Linked DNA regions of Homo sapiens: region 2 is linked to region 1. The links are contacts of gene promoters, found by promoter capture Hi-C in blood cells and fetal thymus (Javierre and others, 2016). All regions are on one chromosome and are shown on one strand. Each heading gives the region's core, a stretch centred on a gene start or on the middle of the fragment in contact. The rest is flanking DNA. Distances are from core to core; before and after follow the strand shown. Region 1 holds the start of TERT (telomerase reverse transcriptase). Region 2 has its middle 4.6 kb from the start of LPCAT1.

Evidence for each region. The method cuts DNA at HindIII sites, captures the fragments that hold promoters and counts their contacts. A CHiCAGO score of 5 or more calls a contact.
Region 2: a contact is called between a fragment that was not itself captured here and the fragment with the promoter of TERT in region 1, in 1 of 17 cell types (naive CD4 T cells). The highest score is 5.6, in naive CD4 T cells.

What each region holds. Positions count from the first base shown.
Region 1 is chr5:1,293,818-1,296,517 of GRCh38, reverse strand. TERT (telomerase reverse transcriptase) reads left to right here and starts at 1,450. Exons shown (of 16, transcript NM_198253.3): 1 at 1,450-1,747; 2 at 1,852-2,700. The coding sequence starts at 1,529. RefSeq lists silencers at 1,104-1,193, 1,294-1,363, cis regulatory regions at 1,396-1,404, 1,416-1,424, 1,494-1,526, 1,529-1,885, enhancers at 773-1,489, 1,460-1,502 and promoters at 1,199-1,890, 1-1,890. The HindIII fragment of the contact is 13,041 bases long and covers 1-2,700 here.
Region 2 is chr5:1,527,187-1,529,886 of GRCh38, reverse strand. No RefSeq gene overlaps it. Among named protein-coding and RNA genes, the nearest start is that of LPCAT1, 4.6 kb to the right of the region's middle. The HindIII fragment of the contact is 1,380 bases long and covers 590-1,969 here.

The DNA of each region.
Region 1 (2,700 bases), core at 201-2,700:
GCAGAGAACCAGTGTAAGCTACAACTTAACTTTTGTTGGAACAAATTTTCCAAACCGCCCCTTTGCCCTAGTGGCAGAGACAATTCACAAACACAGCCCTTTAAAAAGGCTTAGGGATCACTAAGGGGATTTCTAGAAGAGCGACCTGTAATCCTAAGTATTTACAAGACGAGGCTAACCTCCAGCGAGCGTGACAGCCCAGGGAGGGTGCGAGGCCTGTTCAAATGCTAGCTCCATAAATAAAGCAATTTCCTCCGGCAGTTTCTGAAAGTAGGAAAGGTTACATTTAAGGTTGCGTTTGTTAGCATTTCAGTGTTTGCCGACCTCAGCTACAGCATCCCTGCAAGGCCTCGGGAGACCCAGAAGTTTCTCGCCCCTTAGATCCAAACTTGAGCAACCCGGAGTCTGGATTCCTGGGAAGTCCTCAGCTGTCCTGCGGTTGTGCCGGGGCCCCAGGTCTGGAGGGGACCAGTGGCCGTGTGGCTTCTACTGCTGGGCTGGAAGTCGGGCCTCCTAGCTCTGCAGTCCGAGGCTTGGAGCCAGGTGCCTGGACCCCGAGGTTGCCCTCCACCCTGTGCGGGCGGGATGTGACCAGATGTTGGCCTCATCTGCCAGACAGAGTGCCGGGGCCCAGGGTCAAGGCCGTTGTGGCTGGTGTGAGGCGCCCGGTGCGCGGCCAGCAGGAGCGCCTGGCTCCATTTCCCACCCTTTCTCGACGGGACCGCCCCGGTGGGTGATTAACAGATTTGGGGTGGTTTGCTCATGGTGGGGACCCCTCGCCGCCTGAGAACCTGCAAAGAGAAATGACGGGCCTGTGTCAAGGAGCCCAAGTCGCGGGGAAGTGTTGCAGGGAGGCACTCCGGGAGGTCCCGCGTGCCCGTCCAGGGAGCAATGCGTCCTCGGGTTCGTCCCCAGCCGCGTCTACGCGCCTCCGTCCTCCCCTTCACGTCCGGCATTCGTGGTGCCCGGAGCCCGACGCCCCGCGTCCGGACCTGGAGGCAGCCCTGGGTCTCCGGATCAGGCCAGCGGCCAAAGGGTCGCCGCACGCACCTGTTCCCAGGGCCTCCACATCATGGCCCCTCCCTCGGGTTACCCCACAGCCTAGGCCGATTCGACCTCTCTCCGCTGGGGCCCTCGCTGGCGTCCCTGCACCCTGGGAGCGCGAGCGGCGCGCGGGCGGGGAAGCGCGGCCCAGACCCCCGGGTCCGCCCGGAGCAGCTGCGCTGTCGGGGCCAGGCCGGGCTCCCAGTGGATTCGCGGGCACAGACGCCCAGGACCGCGCTTCCCACGTGGCGGAGGGACTGGGGACCCGGGCACCCGTCCTGCCCCTTCACCTTCCAGCTCCGCCTCCTCCGCGCGGACCCCGCCCCGTCCCGACCCCTCCCGGGTCCCCGGCCCAGCCCCCTCCGGGCCCTCCCAGCCCCTCCCCTTCCTTTCCGCGGCCCCGCCCTCTCCTCGCGGCGCGAGTTTCAGGCAGCGCTGCGTCCTGCTGCGCACGTGGGAAGCCCTGGCCCCGGCCACCCCCGCGATGCCGCGCGCTCCCCGCTGCCGAGCCGTGCGCTCCCTGCTGCGCAGCCACTACCGCGAGGTGCTGCCGCTGGCCACGTTCGTGCGGCGCCTGGGGCCCCAGGGCTGGCGGCTGGTGCAGCGCGGGGACCCGGCGGCTTTCCGCGCGCTGGTGGCCCAGTGCCTGGTGTGCGTGCCCTGGGACGCACGGCCGCCCCCCGCCGCCCCCTCCTTCCGCCAGGTGGGCCTCCCCGGGGTCGGCGTCCGGCTGGGGTTGAGGGCGGCCGGGGGGAACCAGCGACATGCGGAGAGCAGCGCAGGCGACTCAGGGCGCTTCCCCCGCAGGTGTCCTGCCTGAAGGAGCTGGTGGCCCGAGTGCTGCAGAGGCTGTGCGAGCGCGGCGCGAAGAACGTGCTGGCCTTCGGCTTCGCGCTGCTGGACGGGGCCCGCGGGGGCCCCCCCGAGGCCTTCACCACCAGCGTGCGCAGCTACCTGCCCAACACGGTGACCGACGCACTGCGGGGGAGCGGGGCGTGGGGGCTGCTGCTGCGCCGCGTGGGCGACGACGTGCTGGTTCACCTGCTGGCACGCTGCGCGCTCTTTGTGCTGGTGGCTCCCAGCTGCGCCTACCAGGTGTGCGGGCCGCCGCTGTACCAGCTCGGCGCTGCCACTCAGGCCCGGCCCCCGCCACACGCTAGTGGACCCCGAAGGCGTCTGGGATGCGAACGGGCCTGGAACCATAGCGTCAGGGAGGCCGGGGTCCCCCTGGGCCTGCCAGCCCCGGGTGCGAGGAGGCGCGGGGGCAGTGCCAGCCGAAGTCTGCCGTTGCCCAAGAGGCCCAGGCGTGGCGCTGCCCCTGAGCCGGAGCGGACGCCCGTTGGGCAGGGGTCCTGGGCCCACCCGGGCAGGACGCGTGGACCGAGTGACCGTGGTTTCTGTGTGGTGTCACCTGCCAGACCCGCCGAAGAAGCCACCTCTTTGGAGGGTGCGCTCTCTGGCACGCGCCACTCCCACCCATCCGTGGGCCGCCAGCACCACGCGGGCCCCCCATCCACATCGCGGCCACCACGTCCCTGGGACACGCCTTGTCCCCCGGTGTACGCCGAGACCAAGCACTTCCTCTACTCCTCAGGCGACAAGGAGCAGCTGCGGCCCTCCTTCCTACTCAGCTCTCTGAGGCCCAGCCTGACTGGC
Region 2 (2,700 bases), core at 30-2,529, 230 kb before region 1:
GAAATTAAGAAGCAGTATCATTTATAACAGCATCAAAACATGAAATAGGAACAGAATTCGAAAACCTATGTAAGACCTATGCAGTGAAAATTATAAAACATTGCTGAGGGAAATTAAAGAAAACCTAAATAAATGATCTGTATACCATGCTCATGGATGGATAACTCAATATTGCTAAGATGGCAATTTTCCCAAATTGATCAATAGATTCAACACAATCTCATTAAAAATCCCACCAACCTTTTGTTTGTTTGTTCCTGGATACTTCAGTTTCTTGACAAAATGATTCTAAAATTTTGGCTGGGCATGGTGGCTCACACCTGTCATCCCAGCACTTTGGGAGGCCAAGGCGGGCAGATTACCTGAGGTCAGGAGTTCGAGACCAGCCTGGCCAACATGGTGAAACCCCGTCTCTACTAAAAAATATAAAAATTAGCTGGGCGTGCTGGTGCATGCCTGTAGTCCCAGCTACTCCGAAGGCTGAGACAGGAGAATCGCTTGAACTCAGGAGGCGGAGTCTGCAGTGAGCCGAGATCGGGCCACTGCACTCCAGTGCAGTGCAGTCTAATTTCAAGACTAATATAAAGCTTTAGTAATCAGTATAGTGTGATGTTGGCAGTTGCAGATGTACAGATCCATGGAACAAAATACAGAGTCCAGGAATAGACTCAACTATACATATATGGCCACTTAATTTTTTTACAAAGTTGTCAAGGTAGTTCAATGGAGAAAGAATATTCTCTTCAACAAATGGTGCCGAAACAGTTGAATATTCAGACGAAAACATTTGAAACTAAAAAACCTCTGCCTCCACTTTACTTTATGCCGTGTACAAATGTCAACTTGAAATGGAATACAGACCTAAATGGTAAAGCCAAAACTGTAAAACTTCTGAAGTAAGAAAATCTGAATGACCTTGATGCAGGTAAATATTTATAAAAGAGGATACCAAAACCATGATCCCTAAAAGAAAACGCTGATAAATTGGACTTCATCAAAATTTAAAATATCTGCTCTTTGAAAGACACTATCACTGCTTAACAAACCATCTCAGTCTGTAGTGACTGAAAACCACCACAATTTTCTGTTTGTCATGATTGTGGGTTGAATAGGAAGTCCATCCATTGTACATGATGGAGTCCCTCACTCTGGGGCTGTGCACTCCTCATCTGGAACATCCACAGGTCCTCTTGTACCCTGGGGTCTGTCTTCATACAACCTCTACACAAGCAGTAGTGGTTCTCCATATAATCCATACTGTCAAGAGTAATTTTTTTTTTTGAAAGAGAGTCTCGCTCTGTTCTTGCCCAGGCTGGAGTACAGTGGCGTGATCTTGGCTCACTGCAACCTCTGTCTCCCAGGTTCAAGCAATCCTCCTGCCTCAGCCTCCCGGGTAGCTGGGACTACAGGCGTGTGCCACCACACCTGGCTAATTGTCATATTTTTAGTAGAGATGGGGTTTTGCCATGTTGGCCAGGCTGGTCTCGAACTCCTGACCTCAGATGATCCGCCCACCTCGGCGTCCCAAAGTGCTGAGATTACAGGCATGAGCCACCGCGCCCGGCCCAAGAGTAATTTTTGAAACGATTATTACATCACTGCAGAAGTATGAAGCATCAAGGAATTAACAAAAATACAGAATCTTTATGTAGAAAAATTTAAAATGCTATCAAAGGGCATGAAAGAACATCTAAATAAATGGTAGAATAACCATGTTGGTGAAAAATCGTTCTCAAAATTATAAAGTGTCCATGCCACATCATCCATTTAAAAAATTTTTTTTTTGTATTTTCTAGTGCTTTGAAGCCTTGGAGCCTTGGAGCCTTGCTGGCCCTTCGAGGGCCCCTCCCAGGACCAGCCAGCTCTTACTGAAGTAACATTCTTAGGGAACAGGGAGAATGAACAGTAAGAATGAAGTAACATTCTTACTGAAGTACCCTGTACAATTAATGTGATTCAAAAGGAAGCTTCCAGCGGGAATTTTTAGCAATGGGGACAACTGCTTCCAAAATTTGGATGGAAAAATAAAATTCCCTGAATTCCTACTACAATTCTTGGGAAGAAGCGCCAACAGGAAGGAACCCCCTCTACAGTTACTAAGGCAGACGGTTGAAAGGTGTGAGACAGGAGTAAAGGAGTACGCGGACCGGCGGGTGAGACGGGAGTAAAGGAGTACACGGACCAATGGGTGAGATGGGGCAGCCAGAAGGAGCTTCAGGAACCCTTCTTTCTGTTCATGCTGGAAGTGGACCCACAAGTGGGAGTCTGTGATTGATACGTGGTGTTGAGAATATCAGGTCTCCATGCAGAGAAAAAAATCTTCAAATAGAATAAAATGCAACCATGAAAGGCAGAACTGAAAAAAGATGTTAGTAGAAAATGAAGGAGAATATCTTTTTCTATCCTATAGATAACTCTAAAATTCAAAAATTAAACAAACAAAACAAAAATACTCAGCCTTACCAGAACAAGCAGGTACCTTGTGTTCTCAATGCACTTGGAGTATAGGAAACACTTCTCTGTGAGCTTACACTCTTAAAACAGAGACAAAACCAGAGCAAGAAGCCTCAGGGGTGTGGTTACCAGCCCCAGGGAGCTGTGGGGGGCTTCCAGGAGGTTCCTGAGAACCACAGTGGGGGCTCCCTTTGTAGCTAAAGGGCCCTTAGGGTGGTTTTCCCAAAACTAAGTCCTAATGAGAAA